2 separate regions of the Homo sapiens genome follow, and region 2 is linked to region 1. Evidence: promoter capture Hi-C in 16 types of primary human blood cells and fetal thymus (Javierre and others, 2016). All regions are on one chromosome and are shown on one strand. Each heading gives the region's core, a stretch centred on a gene start or on the middle of the fragment in contact. The rest is flanking DNA. Distances are from core to core; before and after follow the strand shown.

Region 1 (6,505 bases), core at 1,773-4,272:
ATAGTACGTAGTTGGCGTTTTTTTCCCCCCTGAGGCAAGGTCTTTCTCTGTCACCCAGGCTGGAGTGTAGTGGCATGCTCATGGCTCACAGCAACCTTGCCTTCCTGGGCTCAAGTGATCCTCCTACCTCAGCCTCCTGAGTAGCTGGGACTACAGGCGCATATAACCACGCTTGGCTAATTTTTTATTTTTTGTAGAGATGGGGGGTCTCACTATAGTTCCCAGGTTGGTCTTGAACTCCTGGGCTCAAGTGATCCTCCTGCCTCAGCCTCCCAAAGTGCTGGGATTACAGGTGTGAGCCACTGTGCCCAGCCTGTAGTTTTTACATCCTAATGATCAAGACCCTTTAGGTCTCACCAGACTATCATGAGGTCCTTTATTACCTCTCCTGATTAGTAAAAGTCAGGCTTACTCATTCATAGACTTAAACCCTTGGTTGCCACAGCTTCTGTAAAGCTTGGACACTGAAACAAGATAGACGTAATCAGTCTCAGAGAATAGCTAACTCAGTGAAGTGGGCTTAGGGGTTTACAGTGTTTGAGAATGGCTGGCATTATTTCTTAGGCTACTGCCTGGAGGTGGTAAATGCTGAATTATAATTTTAATGGAGAGATGAGGATGTAGTTTGATCTAGGATGTTGTTTGCAATCACATGAACAAAGACCAAGCAAGCAATGGAAAAATGAAGACAACTGAGAGGTAGGCTAGGGCGAGTAAAGGAGCAGGATAAAGAGAAAAAAAAAGCAAATAAAGTTCAGAGCTGCAGTTGTATTTTAAAGGCTGTCTGCAGAGCAAGAGAAAGCCATTGGAATGACATGATAATCAGAATCCTACGTCCAGGCAACAAAACACTACCCATCCTGCCACCTATAAACCCAGATAGTTGCTCTGATCTAACAATTCAGTCCATCACAGCTTAGTACAGACTGCAAACTCCACCTCCATCCAGCCTTTCCTAACCTTCCTAACTTCCCATCTTCTCTGATCTCCAAATAACGCAGACCTCCTTCTGTCTCTCTACAGACTCCCTAATATGCAAATACCCATCCCCATTTATTAACCCCCATATCCCTCTCCTTAGCCCTTTAATTGGATTTCAGTACTTTCCAAGTCTACTTCATCCCATACCCTCTGACCTACTGAAATACTTTTACTCCTTAATCTTCTCCTCCTTTCAAATATCCTGATTCCGATTCCTCTGCAAAGTCTCCAGCCATTTTTCTTTCCAAAGCCAATTCCCCCATTCTGTGCTGCCCACCCACCTCTGCCTCCCATTCTTCTTTATCCCATTCTGATTGCCAATTTTCCCACAAATTCTATCCCAGTTCCCTAACACAGTAATAGTCTCCCCCATTTCTCTATGGTTCTTTCCTGTGCCCAGACTCAACATTTCTCTATCCATCCAGACTTCCCAAGCTGCTCATCTCTCTTCACCCCAGAAAATACCCTGACATCCTAATGCGTTCCAATACTCTGACCTCCAATTACTCCCCTCCCTAAACAAAATACTCAAACCTCCATCCATTCCTCTTCATCCCAACCCAACTGCCTGCCTATTTGCCTTTCCATCCTAATACTCTAGCCCCCGTATCCTTCTCCATCCTATTAAAAGCCTGAATCCCCTCTCCCATCTCTCTTCTTCTGCTCAGATACCCTAAAACTCAAGCTTCCCATCTCTTTCCATTAATTATTCAATTTTATTGAGCAACTTTTATGTAGGAAGAACCATGCTAGAATCTAAGCTCAAGATGCAGAAGATTTTATCTCCCTATTACCCATGATCTCTGCACCAAGCAGTCTCCTTCATAGCATTTTATAACCATTATTTGTGAAACTACTTGGTTGTTGCCTGTTTCTCCTTCTAGACTATAAGCTACAAGAGAGCAGAGGTTTTGTCTGTTGTTCTATAAACAATAAATATTTGTTGACTGAAGGACTGTACTAAACACTTAGACAATACCAAATTTAAATCCTCAAAGATTTAGCTGTATAGGATCAGAATTATTAACCTGATTTACAAATGGCAATGTACCTGAACAGTTAAAAGCTTGGATTCTGGAACGAAACAGCCTGAGTTCAAATTCTGATTTTCCACTTACTGTGTGATCTTAGGCAAATTACTTAACCTCTCTGGTCCTCAGTGCTATCACTTTTTAAATGGGGATGATAACCTCATACAAGTTATTTTAAATTCTAAATGAGGTTAATACGTGCAAAGTGCTTAAAACTGGATCTGACAAATAGTGAACACCCAAAAATGATTCGCAATTATTTGGACAAATGAGGAAACATGATCAGGAAGGCTCAGACACATATCCAGGGTCACAGACCTGGTTAAGTTACACAAGGTGGCAGAATTGAGGCTTCAACCCAAGTTTGTCTGGCTTCAAAATTCTCTAGTCCCTTAACGAATATAACGGAAGTGTTTGTTCTTCCCCTTCTTTTAGCATTTCGTCCCCATATCCTGTCATCTTTCTCCACGCACTGTACTCCGTCCGATACCGTGACAACCCGTCAGGACGCCCAAACTGTCCTTTCTCCCGCTCACTCCCCACAGACAGCTGGCACATCCCAGCTCTCCCCTCAGCTCAGGTGGCAGGACCCACAACCTTCTGGGCGCCGCACCCTAACTTCCACACCTCCCCACACTCTGGTTCTTCATCCCCAATCGCCCCCGCCGTCCCCACCTCTTCCCATCCAAACCTCCCTCCTTCATCCACCGCCCCACGCCCGTTCCGGGCCCTCCCCTCTTTCCCGTCCAATCCCAATTCCCAGACACGCGCCCCCGCCCCGAATCCATCCCAAGCCGGCCCACACCACGCCCGGTCCGGGCCTTCCCGCCTTTGCCGCCGGCCCCCACTGCTCGGGCCGGATGCCGGGGAACGGGCTCGGCCAGGTCTGACGCTCACCGCCTAGAAGCCGAGCCGAGCAGTCCCGCAGGCTGAGGTAGAGCGGGAGAAGTTCGGGCTCTTTCCTCAGGGGCCCAGCGGCGCGGCAGCCATTTTGTTGTGTTGTGCCGGTTGCCGAGGGGCCGCGCGCGCGTGGTCGGGGCTAGTCTCAGCCACGCCCCTCTCCCTCTCCGGTACTGTTGGAAGGGACGCGGAGGCGTTTCCCGCCTCTTTTGCAGCCAGCGCGCTAGGATGCCGGGGAGTCTTGGGCGCGAGGCTTCCGGCCGCGCGGGGCCGACGGGATGCGGTGCCTTCGCCTTCGGATTGCGTTGCAGGTGAAGTGTCGGGTGCAGAGTCAGGGGGAGCCGAGGTTTCATGCGGCAGCTGCCCGCAGTGCTGTGGCCTTCGCTGAGACAAAGCTGCCGCCGCCACCCTCTGAAACACGGACACGCTTCTCAGGGCCTGTGTCCGAGGACGGCCTGAGGCACCGGCGCAGCGCCTCCCCGGCCTCCCCCACTTCTGATGCTTGCGCGCTATGAGCGAGTGTTCTTATCAGCACACTTCTCTCTGACAGTCGTATCTAAAGCGAATTCCCTCCAGGGACCGAACTGCCCAGGCTCGGATGAACCTCAAAGCGGACGCAGCCTGGGCTCCAGCTGTCGCGTGAGGTTCAGGGAGCTTGGGAATCCTAGGCAGAGGATGTTCCTCTGATTGCTACAAGGGAGTTAAAGCAAGAAGCACTTGCACAGGCTTCATCTGGGGCTTGCCCATGAGCACGGCGTTCACGACATGCATTCAACAGATATTTTAAAGAATTTAGCAGATACTGGGCTGGATGCTAGGGAAACACTGAAGTTTTTTTTAAAGTGTTATCACCATTGACGCCTTTCACTCCAGTAGCCTCCCGTTTTGAAGGTATACCCTGGACCATGTTACCATCAGAGGCTGCACCCGCTCCAGAAATCCCCAGTGCAATCGCTCCCCATCCTTGACTATAATCCTATCATCTTAGCAGCGTGCCTGCTCAAAAGACCCCTATGCCAGCGTATTTCTAAACTTCCTTGCGTCTTCCAGTCCCTTGTTCTTACCATTTTCTCGCGATCATTCTATCCTGTCTTCATTTCCTTTCTTCACTACAGAGTTTATAGGCCACCTGTATAACACTTTTAGAAACTCCCTCTCTCTCTGTGTCTCAGTTTCCTTATCTATGAAATGAGGTCCTTTTACCTATTAACACTTCCTACAGTTTTCCTGATAATTATAAAAGTGAATCCTGGCCGGGCGCTGTGGCTCATGCCTGTAATCCCAGCACTTTGGGAGACCAAGGTGGGAGGATCACTTGAGGTCAGGAATTCAAGATCAGCCTGGCCAACAAGGTGAAACGCCGTCTCTACTAAAAATACAAAAATTACCCGGGCGTGGTGGCGCACGCTTGTCATCCCAGCTGCTTGAGAGGCTGCAGGAGGATCGCTTGAACCCGGGAGGCGGAGGTTGCAGTGAGCCGAGATCGCGCCACTGCACTCCAGCCTGGACGACAGAGCGAGACTCCATCTCAAAAAAAAAAAAAAAAAAAAAAAGTCCAGTTTTCCTGATAATTATAAAAGTGAATCTCTGTGAAAGAACTTAGAACAGTGAGGGACCCATAGTAAGTTCTCAATATGTCTTAGATATTTCATTATTAGACAAAGGTTACCCAGAAGCAATACTTCTTTCTACGCCCAAAAGAAGAGTTTAGGCAAGGAGTAGGGAGGTGGGGAAGAATTTGCTTGGCAAAGGGAACAACTTGTGCAAACCCCGGAAGCGGGGGAAAAGAGCTTGGCAATGTGCTGAATGTTAAGTAATTCAGTGTGGCTGGAACAAAACATGAGTATGGAAACATGAAGTAGTTCAGTATGGCTTGTGCAAAAATCTGGGGTGGAGAAGCTAAATCTGGAAAAGGGACCATATTATAAGCAGTATTAGGCACTTCATTTTTCCTTAAGGCAGAGATGGCTTCACCTCTATAGGAAATTCAGGGGACGTCCAACAGGGAATAAGCTGCAATAAACATGGGGATGCAGATGTGTCTTTGATTTACTTTGATTTACTGATTTCCTTTTCCTTTTACTTAAATGTGATTCCCATTGACATTTAAGTGAATGGTGCTGTCCTCTCCCCAACTATTTACACGACACAGAACGAAGCCCTTGGAGTTTAAACGCAGAATTTTTGAAAAGCTCCACTTAAGAGGAGATTACATTCATTTTTTTTCTTTTCTTTTTTTTTTTTTTTTTTTTAATTTTTTGAACAGAGTCTGGCTCTGTCACCCAGGCTGGAGTGCAGTGGCAGGATCTCGGCTCAGTGCAACCTCCGCCTCCCGGGTTCAAGCGATTCTCCTGCCTCAGCCTCCCGAGGAGTTGGGATTACAGGCACGCACCACCAAGGCCAGCTAATTTTTGTATTTTAGTAGAAACAGAGTTTCACCATGTTGGTCAGGCTGGTCTCAATCTCCTGACCTCACGTGATCCGCCCGCCTCGGCCTCCCAAAGTGCTGGGATTACAGGCGTGAGCCACCGCGCCCTGCCGAGATTACATTCATTTTTAATCGAAGTTCAGGTGATATTTATTAGATTGGAATGTGTACGTTGCTGAGTTTCAGTTCTATTTGCATATGTTTTGACACCCATCGTTTCGGTTTCTTGTACCCAGAAACTTAGATTTATTGCGTAACCTCATTGCTGTGTCCCTCAAAGTCTGTAATGGTATTCACGTGGGATCCATTATCAAGCCGTGGTGTGCTGATGTAGTTCATTATCAATCATATTAGTATCAATTAATAGCCATCAAATATACATAAAAAGTCCAGAGGGTGGCGCAAAACACTTTTCTCTTGGGTGATCTCTCAGTCCGTATCCAGTTAGCCGCGGATGGGCACTCACCGGTCCCATGTTGCCCCCTTTTCCTCCTCATACAGACCTCTGCTGGTGTCTAGCATCATCTCTAACGAAGCTAGAGACTTCAAAGGAGAGACCTTTCTCCAGTTAATTTGAATATTAACTGTCTCTCTTAGCATGCTAAAAGAACTTCCTTCTCCAAAGCAGAAGTGAGAATACGAAAGTAACGCAGACAACTCGCGTTCCACACTATTTTTCTTTATCTGATATTATGAAGAATGTACTCTGAGTTGCATTTACAATACAAATATTAGCCACGTCAGGGTGACCAAGCTTTTACTCAGTCTTTTTTCCAAATGATAGCAAAGCTATTCTGTTTAAACTTCCCTCAGCTTTTTGCAACCCAGTTTAATCATTTTGCGAATTTGTTTTAGAGAAGAAACAGACTAGTTTGTCAGACAGGGATGGCAACTTTCATTATTGCCATTTCTTTCTGTGACTGGCCAGTGTGATTTTGTTGTTTTGTTTTTTAAGACAAGGTCTCACTCTGTCACCCAGGTTTCAGTGCAGTGACACAATCATAACTCACTGCAGCCTTGACTTCTCAGACTCAAGTGATCCTCCTCCCTCAGCCTCCCAAATAGCTCAGTCTATAGGTGTGCACCACCACACCTAGCTAATTTTTAAACTTTTTGTAAAGATGGGGTCTTGCTGTGTTGCCCAGGCTGGTCTTAAACTCCTGGG
Region 2 (6,740 bases), core at 38-2,537, 280 kb before region 1:
TCTTTCTTTCTTTCTTTCCTCACTTTGTTGTCCAGGCTGGGGTACATCACAGCTCACTGCAGCCACGAACCCCCAGGCTCAAGCAATCCCCCTATTTCAGTCTCCTCAGTAGCTGGGACTACAGGTGTGTGCCACCACACACAGCTAATTTTTTTTAAGAAGTTTCAAGTAGAGATGGGAGTCTCACTAGGTTGCCCATGCTGGTCTCAAACTCCTGAGCTCAAGCAATCCTCCCATCTCGGCCTCCCAAAGTGCTGGGATTACAGGCGTGAGCCACCATGCCTGGCAGAAGCATATTATTATTATTATTTTTTTTTTTTTTAAAGTAGAGACAGAGTCTCCCTATGTTGCCCAAGCTAGTCTCAAACCCCTGGGCTCAAGGGATCCTCCCTCCTCAGCCTCCCAAAGTGCTGGGATTACAGGTGTGACCCCTGCACCCAGCTGCAAAGCGTATTATTTAGAAATATGGAGGTAGATATCAAAATGGTCAAAATAGCAAATGTTTTTGAGGAGGAGGAAATTGGAAGAGGTGAGCATGGGAATGCCCTTTTTTTGTACTAATCATATAGAATGGTTTGACTTTTTAAACTTTATGCAAGTGTAACTTCAAAAACACAAATGCATAACCACGAAGGCCAAAAAAGAAGGTGAAAGAGAATAGCTACAGGGAAGAAAAATAGGTTACACATTTTATTTATTTATTTATTTTTAAAAATATGATTTAAGGCCGGGCGCAGTGGCTTATGCCTGTAATCCCAGCACTTTGGAAGGCCATGGTGGGCAGATCACTTGACGTCAGGAGTTCGAGGCCAGCCTGGCCAACATGGTGAAACCCCATCTGTACTAAATACAAAAAGTAGCCGGGTGTGGTGGCAGGTGGCTGTAATCCCAGCTACTCAGGAGATTGAGACGGGAGAATCGCATGATCCCAGGAGGTGGAGGTTGCAGTGAGGTGAGACTGTGCTGCTGCACTCCAGCCTGGGCAACAGAGCAAGACTCTGTCTCAAAAAATAAATAAATAAATATATATATATATATCATTTAAAAATATGGTGTGTACACTAGGAAAATTTTCAAAGAATATACCAAAATACCTCTGAATTTAAAGTAATTTTTCCCTCCTTTGTTATACTTCTGTGAATTTTTTGCATTATTACCTTTGTAATCAGACGGAAAAGCTGTTGCATATTACAGGAACAGGAAACAATTAGAAATGTGAGAGGAAAGCCGTGTACAAAGATGTTCACTACAACACTGTTTATAGCACTAAGAAATCAAACAACCTGTGTAATCAGGAAGTGGGCAATAAATGATGCTGCATAAACCTAGTGAAATATTTTACAGGTGTAATTTTTAAAAAGAGGCTCTAAACAACTTTATACTCATATCATATGGTTTTCACCTTTATTCGTACTGTACTCCTAGCTAAAATGCTCTAATGCCTTTTCCCTCTTTCCTTTTTCTTTTCTTTTCTTTTCTTTTGACAGATTCTTCCTCTGTTGCCCAGGCTGGAGTGCAGTGGTACAATCTTGGCTCACTGCAACCTCCACCTCCTGGGTTCATGCAATTCTCCTGCCTCAGCCTTCCCAGTAGCTGGGATTACAGGCACTCACCACAACGCCTAGCTAATTTTTGTATTTTTAGTAGAGACGGGGTTTTATCATGTTGATCAGGCTGGTCTTGAACTCTTGACCTCAAGTGATCCACCTGTCTCGGCCTCCCAAAGTGCTGGGATTACAGGCGTGAGCCACGACGCCCAGCCTCCACTTTCTTTTCGTCGATATTTTCTTACTATTACATCCTTCAGGAAACCCTCTGACAGCCACCTGAATCACCTCCCCGCCCCATTCCTTTCTCACCTCCATCCTAACTGCGTGAGTTAACTCATTCTGTGTCTTCAAAATATTCTGAACAGATACTCTATATCTGTACTTACCACCTAATATTATAATTATGTGTTTGTCTGACTTTCCCACTAAACTTTAACCCTGAAAGCTGGGATTGGGTCTTACTCATTGTTATCATTTCAGTACAAAGCAGAGGGCCTAATAAATAGTAGATGCTTAATAAATGTTTGCTGAATAAAGTAATGAGTAATGTGGAAATATACTTGTGTTATGACATCACATAGATAAGGGAAAGTAGTACTTACACTTCAGGGCTGTATGAGGATTAGATGGGGAAATTCATGTAAAACAGCTGGTGTAGTGCCAAGCACATAGGTATTCAGCGAATGGTAAGGATGAAGATGGTGGTGATTATGCTAGTAACAGTTGTGAGAGTTGTATATTTTTTGTTTTCAACAGACAGCCCCAGTAAGGGCCTTGGACCTTGCGGATGGATTTTGGTGGCGTTCTCATTCTTATTCACCGTTATAACTTTCCCAATCTCAATATGGATGTGCATAAAGGTAAAGAACATTTCATTCACTTCTGGGAAGGGGTCAACTCCTACCTCCATAAACCTACTTCGTGTGTGCCTGTGTGTATGTGAGAAAGAAACAGACTGTCTCTCTCTCTTATAATTCTTATTTCTTCATCTTTCTTTGGAAAATTTATTCTTCTACCCACCTATTAAAATGGAACCTTAAAACTTCTTTTCAGCCATTGCCCTTCCCCGTGGGCTAAAGTAAGTTTCACCATCAAAAATTTCCTGGGGCCAGGGATGTGAGATGGTTCTGAGAGAACAAGTTCTTCAGAGTTAGGATGATAGGGTTTGACTGCTGGCTTTACTGTTTATTGTGTGACCTTTGCTGTTTCCTCACCTGTAAAATGGGAGAAAGTAACAGTACCTACTTCATAGGAGTGTTGCGAGGATTAAATGAATTATGTGTCTAAATGTACTTATCACAATGCCTGGCACGTCATAAATACCCTCAGTGCTCGTTATTTTTTCTACAAAGTTGTTAATACTTTGATATATGACTATTATTTACATATTTCTAAGAAGATAAAATATGCTCCAAGCATTTTCAGATCAATTTATTCTTAAGGGAATCAGAAGAAAAACTGTGAAGACTTCAGCTTTTTGTGTTTCTGAATTAACAATGCATGAGTAATTTTTTTTTTTTTTTTTGAGCCAGAGCCTTGCTCTGTCGCCCAGGCTGGAGTGCAGTGGCGCGATCTCGGCTCACTGCAACCTCCGCCTCCCAGGTTCAAGCGATTCTTCTGCCTCAGCCTCCCGTGTAGCTGGGATTATTATTATTATTATTATTTTTTTTTTTTTTTTTTTGAGACGGAGTCACCTTGTGGCCCAGGCTGGAGTGCAGTGGTGCGATCTCGGTTCAAGTGATTCTCCTGTCTCATCCTCCCTTGTAGCTTGGATTATAGGCACCCACCACCATACCCGGATAATTTTTGTATTTTTAGTAGAAACAGGGTTTCACCATGTTGGCCAGGCTGGTCTTGAACTCCTAACCTCCGTGATCTGCCCACCTCGGCCTTCCAAAATGCTGAAATTACAGGCGTGAGCCACCGTGCCTGGCCTGCATGAGTAACTGAATAACAATGTTAACAGCTGAGGAGTGAGGTTATGGATTTGTTTCTGTATACTATTCTGTCCTTCCTAAATTTATACAGTGAATATCTATTGCTTTTGTAATCAGTAAGAAAATAATAAATAAGCTTTGAGAAGGTAAACATTGGACATGTGATTTATAGATATGATCTGGTTCTAAAGAAAAAAGATGAGGCATCTAATCTGTTTAGAGCAGAAATATATATTTAAGAAGCCATGCATGTATATATTTGTACTCTTCATGTTAAATTATTATTCATGTTTTTATTCTAGATTATAAAAGAGTATGAAAGAGCCATCATCTTTAGATTGGGTCGCATTTTACAAGGAGGAGCCAAAGGACCTGGTCAGTACTGGGATTCTAGATTGTTTATCTGAAAACTAAAGTTCTTTTTATTTTTTTTATTTTTAGGTAGTTGTTTTTTTAAAGACAGGGTTTCATTCCGTCGCCCAGGCTGGAGTACAGTGGCATGCTCATGTCTCACTGCAGCCTTGAACTCCTGACCTCAAGCAATCATCCCACCCCAGCTTCCCAAAGCACTAGGATTACAGACGTGAGCCACCGTGCCCAGTCTAAAATTTTTTTATTGACGTGATTTCCCTTATGAGGGCCTCTTCTACTCTGTCTTAGATAAGAGTTCATGTAGCAGGAGTTGTATAACAATAGCAGTGGTTCTAGCCAATCTTTTGTTACCCTTTCCTTCCTACCCTTCCCCTCCCCTTCCCATTTGAGCTGATAAGATTACCACCTAGGCCAAGAACAGTACAGCTATACAAGTTTGAGCATGAGAATCTCTACCAAAGAAAGACTTTCAGTCATTCATTTGGCAAACTTCAATTAAGCTCCTACTGTGTTCCAGGTTCTGGGAATTCAAGGGAGACTAAAACACAGTCCCTACCCTCAAGGATCTTCCTATCTAGTGGTAGGAACCAACAAGGAAACAGATAGCTACAATCCTATGTGATAAGTATTATGATCAAGTACTCACAGAGAGCTGTGAGAAAAGAGAAAACCAGAGAAGTGTTACTGATCTGAACTAGTCGTAGGCTGAGTCAAGGCTTTCTGGAAGTTACATCTTGACTGAGTCTTGAGGTCTGAAAAGGTGTTAACCAACAGGAGGTGTTTGCGGCGGAAATAGCAACATACACAAAGCAACAAAGAGGAGAGTATTGCAGATTCAAGAAACTGCAAGTAGATCAGTCCAGCAAGAGTGCAGGGTGTGAAGAGAGAGGAAGTGGCTGAAGAGGGGAACAAAGGCGGGTTATGCAGGACCATGCGTGGGGGAGGGTTTGTATTTTAGGGGGGATTGCTCGGCTTGCAGCTTAGGAAATAGATTATAGGAGAGAAACTACAAAAAATAGAAAGATGGCCTGGGAAACGATTGCATTGGTCCCAGTGGGGCGGTGGGGAGAAGAGTGATAGCAACAGTAGATTAAGGAAATGAACTCCACAGACCTTAGTGGAGACAGTCAAATGTGGGAAGTAAGCAAGAGGAATCAAAGTTATCATTCCTGGCTTCTGGCTCATTCACGAAGATGAACTGGTGACTTTTCAGTTCACTAGGTTGATTTTCTTAAAACTGAATGGAGAAGTGAACTGATTAGGTTGCTGGTGTCTGTATAATGTGTGTATCTTTGTTGCAGGTTTGTTTTTTATTCTGCCATGCACTGACAGCTTCATCAAAGTGGACATGAGAACTATTTCATTTGATATTCCTCCTCAGGAGGTAAGGTTTTCTTTGAATAACTGAGGTATCATATGTGAAAGTGCTTTACAATGAGGGACAGAATAGTTAGAGTGTAGGCTTTATTTATTTATTTATTTTAAATTTTTGTTTGTTTGTTTGTTTGTTTTAATTGGAATCTTGCTCTGTCACCCAGGCTGAAGTGCAGTAGTGTGATCTCAGCTCACTGCAACCTCCGCCGCCTGGGTTCAAGTGATTCTCGTGCCTCAGCCTCCCGAGTAGCTGAGACTATAGATGTGCGCCACCACGCCCGGCTAATTTTTTTGTATTTTTAGTAGACACGGGATTTTGCCATGTTGGCCAGGCTGGTCTCGAACTCCTGACCTCAGGTGATCCGTTCTGGCCTCCTAAAGTGCTGGGATTACAGGCATGAGCCACCGTTCCCTGCCAGAGCACAGGCTTTAGACCTTGACTGCCTTCAGCATTTCTAGCTCAGTGACCTTAAGCAAGTTCTTTAACTTTTCTGTGCCTCAGTTTCCTCATCCAGAAAATAGACATTTGTAATAGTAAGAACTACTGTATAAGGTGGTTCTGAGAAGTGAGATATATGTGCCAAGTGCTTAGAGCAATGGCTGACAAATAGTAAGTGCTATATAAGTTCTTACTGTTACTATTACAGTTGGCCCTTTGCATGCATGGGTTTTGCATACAGGGATTCAGCCAACCGCAGACTGAAAATATTAGGAAAAAACTCCACAAAGTTCCAAAAAGCAAAACTTGAATTTGCCATGCATCAAGCATGGCATTGAATCCACATGAATAAAGTGATGTGTAGGTATTGTATTGGATAATAGAAGTAATCTAGAGATGATTTAAAGTGTACAGGAAAATGTACATAGATTATACGGTTGGCTCCATGGATCAAAAATATTTAGGGAAAAAAGCAATTGACAATGATACAATAATACAAATTTTTAAAAACGGTGTAGTATAGCAACTATTTATGTAGTATTTACATTGTGTTAAGTATTATAAGTACTTCAGAAAGGATTTAATGTATAAAGGAGGATGTGCATAAGTTATATGCAAATATTGTGCCACTGTATATAAGAGACTTGAGCATCCTTGGATTTTGGTATCCTCTGAGGGTCCTAGAATCAATCTCCCACAGATACCGAGGAATGATTATTACAAAACATAGTGTAATGCTAATGTAAGTATAATAATATCATCATTGTTATTACTATCAACATTTTTACTACCACATTTCTCTTCTATGGGTTTCTGATAGAAAACCCTATTAGTTCATTATTTTTTTTCTTAAGGTTTTATTCTAGATAAATTGGTTAGAAACCAAAGAATTAGAAACTGCTTGTTGGGCATTTTAGATAAAACATAATATTTTATACTAGTGATTATTTTGTGCCTTTTCAAACTACTTCACAAGTATTATCATAGATGAAACTCATGGCAGAATCCCTAGAAAGTATATAGTTGCAGTGAAACAAAGGAATTCCTCCAGATTACAGTGGCAGAGCC

The links. The method cuts DNA at HindIII sites, captures the fragments that hold promoters and counts their contacts. A CHiCAGO score of 5 or more calls a contact.
Region 2: a contact is called between a fragment that was not itself captured here and the fragment with the promoter of CNTRL in region 1, in 1 of 17 cell types (neutrophils). The highest score is 5.2, in neutrophils.

Annotation. Positions count from the first base shown.
Region 1 is chr9:121,071,472-121,077,976 of GRCh38, reverse strand. CNTRL (centriolin) reads right to left here and starts at 3,022. Exons shown (of 44, transcript NM_007018.6): 1 at 2,910-3,022. It also overlaps a transcript of C5 not described here. RefSeq lists silencers at 2,618-2,757, 2,878-2,937, 3,562-3,758 and enhancers at 3,058-3,447, 5,801-5,850. The HindIII fragment of the contact is 4,047 bases long and covers 2,050-6,096 here.
Region 2 is chr9:121,351,723-121,358,462 of GRCh38, reverse strand. STOM (stomatin) reads left to right here. Exons shown (of 7, transcript NM_004099.6): 2 at 2,307-2,410; 3 at 3,790-3,862; 4 at 5,161-5,243. Among named protein-coding and RNA genes, the nearest start is that of STOM, 15 kb to the left of the region's middle. RefSeq lists an enhancer at 4,241-4,460. The HindIII fragment of the contact is 4,677 bases long and covers 1-3,625 here.